Regions from separate parts of the Homo sapiens genome. Here region 2 is linked to region 1. Evidence: promoter capture Hi-C in human tissues and cell types (Jung and others, 2019). All regions are on one chromosome and are shown on one strand. The core of a region is centred on a gene start or on the middle of the fragment in contact, and the rest is flanking DNA. Distances in the headings are between cores, read along the strand shown. Region 1 holds the start of CDKN2B (cyclin dependent kinase inhibitor 2B). Region 2 has its middle 110 kb from the start of MIR31HG.

Region 1 (5,967 bases), core at 1,225-3,724:
TAACTGGCTTGTAGTGTGATAATTTGAGCCAAAGTTGGAGATTAGAAGGGAAAAGTAAATTAAATCATGCAAAATCTTATAAAATTATAATAAATGATTTTTCCTTAACAGTTCATCATTTTAAATTTAGACTATAATATTTTTAATGTAATATAAAACTAACTATATTTGTATACTACAGGATTTTATAATAGCTAAGATTTAAAAATGTTAAACAGTAAATATTTTGCTATATAAAAAGAGCTTGGGCCAGGCCCAGTGGCTTATGCCTGTAATCCCAGCACTTTGGGAGGCCATAGCAGGCAGATCACCTGAGGTCAGGAGTTCGAGACCAGCCTGGCCAACATGGTGAAATCCCGTCTCTACTACAAAAAATAAAAAATTAGCTGGGCATGGTGGGGCGTGCCTGTAGTCCCAGCAACTCAGGAGGCTGAGGCAGGAGAATCGCTTGCATCCTGGAAGAGGTTGCAGTGAGCTGAGATTGTGCCACTGCACTCCAGCCTGTCCGACAGAGTGAGGCCTCATCTCAAAAAAAATAAAATAAATAAATAAATAAATAGAGCTTGGATGTTAGCAGTCAATCAGGATGATGCATAACTTAGAAAAAATGATGTTTTGCAGGAGTAATCCTGTAGCAGCCATTTGTGTACATGAACATTATGAAAACATTTGCTGTCATATTTAAAGTCAATTATAAGACAATTTTTGGTAACTAAATGTCTAAAATCGAGTTATTTGTTATGGGTTTATGCACTTTAAAATATACCATTTAATTGAAAGGCAGTATACTTCTCATGTTTTGTTGGCTTGTTTCATTAATATTAGAAATGTTCATTTCATCTCTTAAAAACCGTGATAAGTTATATCTACTAGTGATGTAAGGATATTTTACATAGAAAAAAAGGGGAAAATAGCTGCTGTTAGTATTTCAGAAAATGGTGAATTACATATATAACTTGTTTTTATAATTATTAATAAAATTTTAAGTTTTTAAGATGCACTTTACAATATTTTTGCTCCTTTAAAAATCCCTCATTTGTTATACCATTATTCTAAGAATTCAAAAGAAATGAACACTTCTTTAAAATCTATACTATTAACAAGATCCCTTAATATTAGCTTAGTTTTAGAGGGTGATAGTGAGGTGAGTACTGAATATGACCACTAGCCAACGGTAAAGTACAAAAGAGTTGTCCGAGATTGTAAAAGAAATAAAAAATATCAGTACTAATTAAAGCAGGATTCGTACTTAAACATTGAATAAGTGTATTTTAACAATGAAGATAAAGATGCATTATTTATGAAGATCCTTTGCCATTCAAAAAGGACCTAACAGTTGCTGCAGGAATATTTTTGTAATCTGGGCACTGAGTATGATAATTAAAGAATGAGAAACCTATAGAACTATATATTTTTTCTCTTATGCATCACTCATAAGACACTGCTAACATAAAAGGAACTAAGTACTGTGGTTGAGGAATCCCGTCTCATTCTCAATTAACCTCTATGAGAAAACAATACAACAGATTTCATATAGTAGCTTAGAAGTTTACATTGATTTTTTCCATGTACTATGATTTTGTAGAATTCCTTAAATCCAATCTAGAATGCGTAACTTATACTTTACTTATCTTTATCGTTGAAAGCAGACAGACAAGATAATCTTCTTCCCTAAATAAGCTTTCCTTTTCTCCTTTTCTCCCCAATTCAGTCTATTCCTTGCATCTCTGATCATGAGATGGCAGAACAAAAACCACTAAAAAAAGCTTAAACAGTGGGTTTTTCAATGTCTCTCTTTAGGATTTTTGCTGGGTAAAAGCCTGTTTTACGCGTGGAATGCACACCTCCGGCCAACGGAGACTCCTGTACAAATCTACATCGGCGATCTAGGTTCCAGCCCCGATCCGCCGAGGCCGCGCCCCGCGTTCGCGCGCCCCCTGCCGGCGAGGCCCTGGGGCCCCAGCTACCTGGATCGCGCGCCTCCCGAAACGGTTGACTCCGTTGGGATCCGCGCCGGCTTCCAGGAGCTGTCGCACCTTCTCCACTAGTCCCCGCGCCGCGGCGCTGGCCAGACCCTCATCGCTGCCGCCCCCACTGGGCATGCCCTTGTTCTCCTCGCGCATTCCGCAGCCCCCAGACGCGCAGCGGCCCGGATAATCCACCGTTGGCCGTAAACTTAACGACACTCTTCCCTTCTTTCCCACGCTGCTCCGGCGCACTCTCTCCTTCCTAGGAGACCTGGGCTCAGCTTCATTACCCTCCCGTCGTCCTTCTGCGGCTTGGGGCCCCGTGCAGTGGCCGAGCGGCCGGTCGTTAGCTCCGGGCTTTTCCTGGCGCTCAAGAACCAGCGGGCGCGCCTGGATTGCTTCTGGGAAAAAGCGCCTAGCGCGGACGCAGCCGAGCTCAAAGCCGCTCTGGCCGCAGGGTGCGGACGCGTCGCGGAGTCCTCACTGCCCCGCCTCGCTCTGGCAGAGTGGGGAGCCAGCCGGCAAAGAATTCCGTTTTCAGCTGGGCCAAGGGGCCGGCGTCTCCCCACCCCCTTAGGCTCCGCCCCCTGTCCGCTGTGATCGCCGGGAGGCCAGGCCCGGGCCGACGCGTCACGAGGGCGGGGAAGCCTGCCCAAAGATGCTAGGACGCATGCGCCAGAGACTGGGCCAGGGAGCCGCCAGGAATGCTGGCTGCACTGCTCGCTGGATGTCCAGTAAAGCCAAGGCTAATATTTTGGGAATGTTCACCACTGCCCTCAGCTCCTAATCCCCAGTAGGCGGAGCAGAGGATTTCTGTTCCTTCAGCCAGCCAGTTGGTTTCACTGTGGAGACGTTGGTGGCTCCCTTGTGACCGAGAGAAAGTCATTCAAAATAACTCCGTGTTTCTTAAGATGTCTGAAAGCGACAGCTCTGCACCTGTCATACAAGTTAAATTCATCCCCAGGCAGTACTTGGGCTTCACAAGTTTCATAACTTGTATCAAACTTAGCAATTTTCTCTTGGATGTGTCTTTCTGTTTGAATTAGTCAACCATAAAAATAGAGAAAAATCCCGAGAATCATGTTTTGCGTGTGCTTTTTAATTCTTTCCATTTTTGCATTATGGATACAACCCTTAAAAGAGAAAAAAACTAGTTCGAGATTGAGAGTGGCAACCTGGCACACATAAGACAAAAAAAAATTATACTTTAAGAATCTGAGATCCCAGTTTCATCATATTTGTACAGTAAATCTTTGTTTGCACTCTTACCTATTTAAACCCACTTTGTCAGGTATCTTATTTTTATTTATCATGAGTAATAAAGGAAATTTATGCAGTAATAATGAAACATCATAAGAGAGGGGTGTGGTGCTGGGCTTGTCATTAAACAGGCTGAACCTGTCATTAAATTCTCTTCTGAAGATTTAAATGCCAAGTGCTTTTTTTCCCCTTCCTAATCTTCCTAGGTGAGTTTGAATCAACATTTATTACTTAAAATATTTAAAACATTTCAGCGGATGCTACATTGGATAGGAAGAGAACCGCAAGTTATGGATTTGTTGCCTAAAAACTTTGGTGAGGAACTGCATAAGTGGACCTCTCCTAAAAGTGAACAATTTTTGTTTACAGAATCATTTTGGTTCGGAGTGCTGAGGAAGACAAAGTCTTAACAGGAGGGCAATTGCTTGTGTATTGCAAAATGAGAGTCTTCACATGTTTTTTTTAGGATACCTTAGCTCTGACTCCTCATCCCCCAAATCCCTGTAGAATTAAAAAAAGCTCTTTCTTTTAAAGGCAGTGGAAGTGCCACCACCATGGAAGTGCTGGTTAGGGCTGAAAATCTACTGACAGAGCCTCAACAGAGCTGAAATCCACCTGGACAGGGAAGGGAACCGGGTAGCATTAATAACAATTTCTTTTTCTTTCCCATCCAACCCCCATTTCCTAGTCTTCAGTTTCTTAATTTCTCTACCTTTTACTCTTATGCTCTTGTTTTGACCTTTGAGTTTCTCTGAAACTTATCAGAAAAGTTAGGACAAGATAGTCTGACCCAATTCTTGAGCCATTTTCTTAGGTAGTAAATATGTCAGAAAAATGAAAGCTGTTTGGAGTTGATAAGGAAATGGAAGATAATGTTTTTCTTTGAGGGGGACATAAAGAATGGTGATAGGGAAAGAACCAATGACTAAGTAAAATGACTGAGAATCTTGCACGAGGCAGATGTGTGAGCTTCGCGAAGCAAGTTGACTGAATGAAAAACAACTTTGGGTAGGGAAAACGTTGCCGGGGGCATTCGCGCTTACTAGCACCACGGACAGCGCTTTGCTTATACTCAGGCCTGGGTGGTCCTAACCAGCTCCAGACAGAATTCTAAAGCTTCACACTTGATCTTCCAAAGCCCCTTTTCTCCCGTCAAATAGAAAGGACATTATGGAAGCTCAATGAATTTCTTTGAAAAACCAACCTGCTCAACCTGGTTTTCAAATATGATTGGATTTTATCTAATATTCTCTGTATAAAGAATATTATATAGTCTATATTTAGAAGACGAGAAGAGAAATCAAACTTATTGTGTACTCTGTACGAAGTGCTTTACAGCTGTTGTTTCATTTAATACTCATAAAACTCCTCTGTGGCATGTGTCCATATTTCAATTTTACAGACAAGCCAAAAGGATCAGAGAATTTGAGTGACTTGTATACTAGCTAATCATTGTTGGAGGTGGGTATAACTTTTGCGACTTCAGAGTCTTTTTACCCTTTATACTACATAGTGTTTTTTTTAGCAGCTGTCATGGTAGGCTTAACTGGAAAAAAGTAATAAACTGGCTTATAATTATTTTTCAGTCTACACTGTGTTTTCCAGATGGCTCACCTCACAGCACACCCTTACCAGACTTCAAAGATGACATTTCACATGTAATACAATAGCACATTTGTCTTGGACAATAGAGTGAGATTATGAAACATTTTACCTCTCCTTGAAACCCAGCTGTCTCTAGGGTGAAACACAATCTGTTGTTAATGCTTTAAACACATTTAAAAGATGAAGTGGATGGGAACATAGTGGGCAGCTGAAACTTGGAATTGTCAGAGCCATGTCTTTTAATAAGGTGGAGAATTTATAATTGAGAAGAAAGAAAGAGAAAGTTAATGGTAAATTGGCATAGAATTTTGGAGGTCAGTAGAAGGGAATGAGTGGCATCCATTCCAATGTTGCACATAACTCAGATCACTAGTAATAATATTTTTATATTCTAGTTGGTGAAATTGTCTGTATATGACCTTGATATAGAAGTATGAACAGATCTGCCATCCTCTTTTTCTTCAGCGAGGCAGCCGAGCTGCAGACACAGAGATGCAGATCTTTGTGAAGACCCTCACGGGCAAGACCATCACCCTTGAGGTCGAGCCCAGTGACACCATTGAGAATGTCAGTGCGAAAATTCAAGACAAGGAGGGTATCCCCCCTGACAAGCAGCGTCTGATATTTGCCAGCAAACAGCTGGAGGATGGCCGCACTCTCTCAGACTACAACGTCCAGAAACAGCCCACCCCGCACCTGGTGCTGCACCTGCGAGGTGGCATTATTGAGCCTTCACTCTTCCAGCTCACCTAGAAATACAGCTGAAACAAGATGATCTGCCATAAGCGCTATGCTCTCCTGCACCCCTATGCTGTCAATTGCCGCAAGAAGAAGTGTGGCCACACCAACAACCTGCACCCCAAGAAGGTCAAATAAGGCTCTTCCTTCCTCGGAGGGCAGCCTCCTGCCCAGGCCCCATGGCCCTGGAGCCTCAATAAAGTGTCCCTTTCATTGACTGGAAAAAAAAAAAGTATGAATAGAACTGGTTGACTGGCCAAGAGAAACAGCGACCTAACCTTGCCCTCATTTATGCACACTTTTGCATATGATTAGGACTAAGATAGTGTTTATAAGTGAGAAGAGAAGGAAATTCATAATCACTTTTGGGGCTTTTTCAAATTTTTTATGAACACAC
Region 2 (5,965 bases), core at 969-3,468, 340 kb before region 1:
GTGGCTCACGCCTGTAATCCCAGCACTTTGGGAGGCCGAGGTGGGCGGATCACGAGGTCGGGAGTTCGAGACCAGTCTGGCCAATACAGTGAAACCCTGTCTCTACTAAAAATACGAAAATTAGCTAGGCATGATGGCGGGTGCCTGTAATCACAGCTACTCAGCAGGCTGAGGCAGGAGAATCACGTGAACTCTGGAGGCGAAGGTTGCAGTGAGCCAAGATCACGCCACTGCACTCCAGCCTGGGCAGACTCCATCTCAAAAACAACAACAAAAAAAAAGTTATGATAAAGAGAAACTTCGAATATTTAATTATCTTTTCCCATTGATTTCTAATGTTTTCAGACGTATGTTCTCATAGGAGTTGGGAGGGAGGGACAACAATCACTTGAAAAGATGTTTCTGTTTTTCTTGGTCTTGGTATCTTTTATTTCCCAGATGTATAGGTCATAAAAGGATTGAGTATGTCATCTAGTCATCTTTTGGATAAATATTCAACTGATAACAAGTTAAATTTTATTTCTTAGAACAGTCTCCTTAACTCCATGAAAGCTGAATATGTAAAGCCAATCACTATACACAAATGATTCTATTTCCGATGTCCTTTTACAGTCTTAAAGAGTCAGCTAAGAATTTTCTTCCATAAAATTCAGTTTGTTCTGGTTGAGAGGAGGAGGGCAAAGCTCCTACTGCATCTGCCTTTAGAGAAATTCCAATAACTGTCTTGTTTTCAGTTTAAGGTAAGTGATCATAGACATTGAACATGACTGAAAATGTTTTCTCCCTCTCTCTTAAATTCATGTATTTATTCAGCCCGCCAAAACATATCATGCCAGGGACCATCCTAGGTATAAAGAAAGAAAAACATAAATAAGACAATCTCTACCCACAAAGAAGTTGAATCAAGAAGAAACATTAAAAGCTGGATGCTGCTTCTTTAGATTATATAAAATTTTATTTTGCAATGACTCTTGGAAAATGCAATATAGAGTTATAGAAAATATATATGCTGTGCATATAAAGAAATGATACATAAATCCAATTGACTTCCTCAGCTTTTTAATAATAGCTTTCATTTATTTAGTGCTCACTATATACCAGATCCTATACTAGGTACTTTAAAATTTTTATTTTCTATAATATTTACAGTAGTTCCATTTTGCATAGGAGGAAAAGAGCTTTATCTCCATTTTACAAATTAAGAAACTGAGCTTAGAAAAGTTATTAGTCATAAGAAATATTAATAGTGTATGGCAAAAAGAGGTTCAGCTCCCAGTGTCTATGGCTCCAGAGTTGGTGGCTCTTGACTTCTCTGCTATCACATCCCTACAACAAATGTGGGGACAACAAACGTGTCCTGTGTCATATACACAAAGTGAGATTAACTTGTTTGTAGAATCTTCTCCTCATGGCGCTTTCTTGCCATGCAGTGTGATCTTGATTGACATTTGTTCCAATGACTGGACAAGGCTGACTCAGGAGTCTGCTGTCATTTGAGCTGATGCAGGGGGTAAGAAGAAGGTGGCGTTTTATAGCCCTTTACATATTCTGTTGAAAATATATATTTACAGGCCTGGTGCGGTGGCTCACACCTGTAATCCCAGCACTTTGGGAGGCTGAGGCGGGCGGATCACAATATCAGGAGATCGAGACCATCCTGGCTAACACGATGAAACCACGTCTCTACTAAAAATACAAAAAATTAGCCGGGCATGGTGGCGGGCGCCAGTAGTCCCAGCTACTTGGGAGGCTGAGCTTGCAGTGAGCCGAGATTGTGGCAGTGCACTCCAGCCTAGGCGACAGAGTGAGACTCCACCTCAAAAAAAAAAAAAAAAGAAAAGAAAAGAAAATATGTCTTTATAATTAGAAGCCTTCCCATTAGACTGATGATTTCTAAAGTATGAGGTTCCTTGTCTTTCTGTTAACAGAGACTACATTATGTCAGACAAGAACAGCCATTCAGTATCTGGTTTGGAATGAATGATGCAATAAGATAGGCAGATACAGTGGACCTCCCCATGACATCTGTGAAGTCCCAGCAAAAATACAAATGGAAACCTTCAGTCCATGGCCTCCCAACTTGCTTTTCTCATTCCTCACTCATTCCTAGATCATAAGGGACCTTGAAACTTGTATGTGGATACTCTAGCCTGTTATGTGCAAGGTCTGTCCACACTATGCAAATAGAATTCCCTTGGCCACTTCTTTGGCCTATGCTATGCCCTCAGGAGGATGGGCCAGGGAACATGCTTATTCCTAGAATAGAGCTTGGGTCCACTTTGGACATAGAACTCTAGAAAGCTGTGTCTCAGATCATAGTCTAGAAAAGGTCTGGGTGAGCCAGGCTTCCCTTGGTCCCTTTGACCTTTAACCCTTTGTGAAGGGACACCATAGGAAAACTAGATCAGAGCCCTTCAAAATTCAGGGTCTAAAGGTGGTACTGGATCTTGCTATGACCTACTTTATAGAATGAGAAAATAGAAACTCAGACACTTCAAGTGCTTCATTCAGGCTCAAAAACTTAGTGAGGAGATCTAGAACATGAACCAGTGACTTCTAGTGTCAAATCCAAGATATCTTCCACTCTACTCGTTGTTCTATTGTATTTGTATAGGGAAAAATGACAATTTTTCCAAAATATTTAAAAGAAATAATTTCTCTCTTAGCATTTCTCTGCATGTAAAGCTGGGTTCTCCCTCTGGATATCACAAAAAGTTCACACCAACTTTATTACCTCGAGCCTCTGACCTCTAACGCAAAGAATGGGACTGATTGAGAGACAGCAAATTTGTAAGGGCTTCTGTCTTCTGTGGAGCAGAAGTGTCAAAAGTGATGCTTGTTGTGTTGAAAAAAAGTTGAAGTTTTGTAAGAGTTGTAACCAGAGATGTCTCCTTATCATAATAGGTCACTCGTTCAAAAAGGTTTTTAATTTGGACAGGATTGTGGGAAATGAGCATTTTCTTTCATTGCAACGACCAAACTGAACACCAAGTAGTTCTTACTATTTGTATCTCTGGGTTCTAGTCAATATTTTACGTAAAGATCAACTTGATATATATATTTCATTTTAAACTTCAATAAGGACATGTTAAAATATGAGGAAGAATTAATACTAGTTTTTCATGTTCCATTATAATTATCTTTGTGATTGAAACCTTCTTTAAATTGAAGAGGAAAATGAAGTTTCTTATGGACACTGCATTTCAGCCTCTAGGCAAAACTTTGACACAATTTAACAACAACAAAAAAGAGGTCTATAAGTTTCCATGCAAGTGAAAAATGGATAATATTTATGTTATTAATCCTATGAGGGAGATGGTATTTCTCATTTTAAATCCTTCTATGTGTATTTATGATGCTTTGGGGAGACAAACATTTACTCTGACATCTGCCTTAAGTACCAGAAACAGAATGAAAGTGTGAGAAGAATAAAGAGGATGCACTAGGCTTATTTTTGGGAAATATGAGCCTAGACCTGTGAACCCAATATATATGTTATATGTTGCTAACCACTATATGATAAAGAAGAAACAAGTCTCCAGGAATGTGTGTGGGCTAGTGCTGAACCTGGACAGGTTTCTGTGCTTCCTACAAATATTCCTGGCTGCGCCATAAATCCCAGCAAGGTGAACTACATTTCTTGGCCACTGTTCATCCTGTTTTCAGCTCATCCTTGAGGTTGGTTGGATGCTCTCACAGAGGATGCTAATCTTTCAGGCTTCTGAGCTCATGCAGTCCTTCTATCCTTTTGAAAGCACAAATCTCACCAGCTGAAATCAGTCATTATTTCCTTAGGGAACCAAATCTAAACACTAGAACTTCTCTCCCAGCCTGTAATTAAATCTGGCGGGCAGGTCACCAGTGCCACTGGGTCAGGAAAGAGAAGAAAAAGGAAGTGAAAGAAATGGCATTTGTTTCTTGGCTGGCCCCAGTGCTTCTCTGAGAGGTAGGCTCTGGCAGCCACACAGTGGAGTCCCTGTGCCCAGAATATTCGTGCCCAGAATTGTTTCGGGTCTGCCAGCTGGCTCCAAAAAGGTTCTTTCCAATCAGGGTCTTGCTTGCTCACTCAGCACTTGAAGCTGAAGCACATTGCTGGTGGTCTGTTGCTGCCCCAAAAGAATTTTCCCTAATTTACCACCTCTGATTATGAAACAGCAGAGCTTATCATACTTTAAAAGGTATCAGAATCGCTCAGAAAGCTTGTTAAATAAAGATTCCTGGAATTTATTCCCAAGACTTTGATTTAGTGGGTCTAGAGTTATGCCTGAAATTTTGAATTTCTTTTTATTCTGATTTATTCATTTATTTTTCTTAATTGACAAATATAAATTGTATATATTTATCATGTACAACATGATGTTTTGAAATATTATAAACATGTATTTCAAATATATGTGGCTAAATCGAGCTAATTAATATATGTATTATAAGTTAATATATACTTTTATATTTTTATATTATATAGGTATTATAGTATTATATGTTAATATATTATATGTAAAATATATGCAGCTAAATCAAGCTAATTAACATATATATTACCTTATATACTTATTTTTTGTGGTATGAGAACACTTAATATCTACTCTCCTGGCAATTTTCAAGAATACAACACATTTTTATTAACTATAGTGACCATGTTGTATCATAGATCTCTTGAACTTATTTCTCCAATATAACTGAAATTTTGTACCCTTTGACAAGCATCTCCTCAACCCACCCTGCCAGCCCCCGGTAAACACAATTCCACCCTCCTCTTCTAATAAGTCAATTCTTTAGATTCCACATATAAGGGAAATCATGCGGTATTTGTCTTTCTGCGCCAGGCTTATTTCACTTACCATAATGTCCTCCAGGTTCATCCATGTTGTCACAAATGACAGGATTTTCTTCTTTTTTATGGTGGAACAGTATTCCATTGTGTATATACACCACATTTCCTTTATCTATTTATCTGTTGATGGACACTTAGATTGATTCTGTATCTTAGCTATTGTGACTAGTGCTGCAATAAACAGAGGAGTGCAAATATCTCTTCAACATATTGATTTCATTTCCTTTGGATGTATAGCCAGAAGTGAGATTCCTGGAACATTACGAAAGCTCTATTTTTAAGTTTTTGAGAAATTTTCAAACTATTTTCCATAATGGCTGTACTGAGAATTTGCACTTCTAACAAAATCCCAGGTCATGCAGATGTTGGTGATCGACAGCCACAAAAGGCTATGGATGATTGATTGTTTTCTTCCTTAGTCGCCCAGATTTTAGTGTCTAATTTTAAAGTTAAACATGGCTATTATGTTAACTTTTACTGTCATCGCATTTGCATTCTTCTTATCCTTACTGCTTATTTTCTATTTCTATTTTTCTTTCTTACTGTATATGATTTTCGTTGAAGAGGGGGAGTGTTTACTAAATTCAATGACTTTTGAAACTAAGTAGGGTTTTCTTATTTATTCTACTAAGTAATTATACTTGAAGCTATCTACATCAAGTTTTATTCTGTTACGGAACAGGTAAGACCCCAGAAAGAGGTACCAGAGGTGATATTTGGATAATATCTACCCAATTGAATAAGAAATGTTGAATTTAATAGATTCATGCCTCCTGCAATAAAGTGGGGTCCAAATGTAATATCTGCCCTCTGACAAAGAACTTCCCTGATTCTGTCTCATCTGTGTTTAGTTTTGGTCTAAATGCCTGAGGTTGCTACCTCACTATGCTGCTAGTTGGGCTTCTGTCTGTTCCATTTGGGCAGGAAGAAAAAGAGAGAAAATGAAAGCGATGTGGTTTGTCTCACCCTGCCTTATCACAAGGTTCTTACCCCCGAGTTTGGGGTGAGGTTCAAGGAAGAATGAGAATATGACTCAGATGCCCCATCAATACATTTTCCCAAATAAAACAAGAGGTGTATGTAGCTAGTCCTGCCTTACTATCAAATATCAAACTTTTCATTCATTTGCAA

What was found. The method cuts DNA at HindIII sites, captures the fragments that hold promoters and counts their contacts. A contact is called where the count stands out against the background at its distance.
Region 2: a fragment that was not itself captured here is called in contact with the fragment with the promoter of CDKN2B in region 1 in 1 of the 25 tissues and cell types used here (dorsolateral prefrontal cortex).

What each region holds. Positions count from the first base shown.
Region 1 is chr9:22,006,831-22,012,797 of GRCh38, forward strand. It overlaps CDKN2B (cyclin dependent kinase inhibitor 2B), which reads right to left and starts at 2,475. Exons shown (of 2, transcript NM_004936.4): 1 at 1,968-2,475. The coding sequence starts at 2,123. All of the region lies in intron 1 of CDKN2B-AS1 (CDKN2B and CDKN2A antisense cis and trans regulatory RNA 1), which reads left to right. It also overlaps the pseudogene UBA52P6. RefSeq lists silencers at 1,817-2,016, 4,140-4,434. The HindIII fragment of the contact is 12,658 bases long and covers 1-5,682 here.
Region 2 is chr9:21,664,790-21,670,754 of GRCh38, forward strand. No RefSeq gene overlaps it. Among named protein-coding and RNA genes, the nearest start is that of MIR31HG, 110 kb to the left of the region's middle. The HindIII fragment of the contact is 6,599 bases long and covers 1-5,518 here.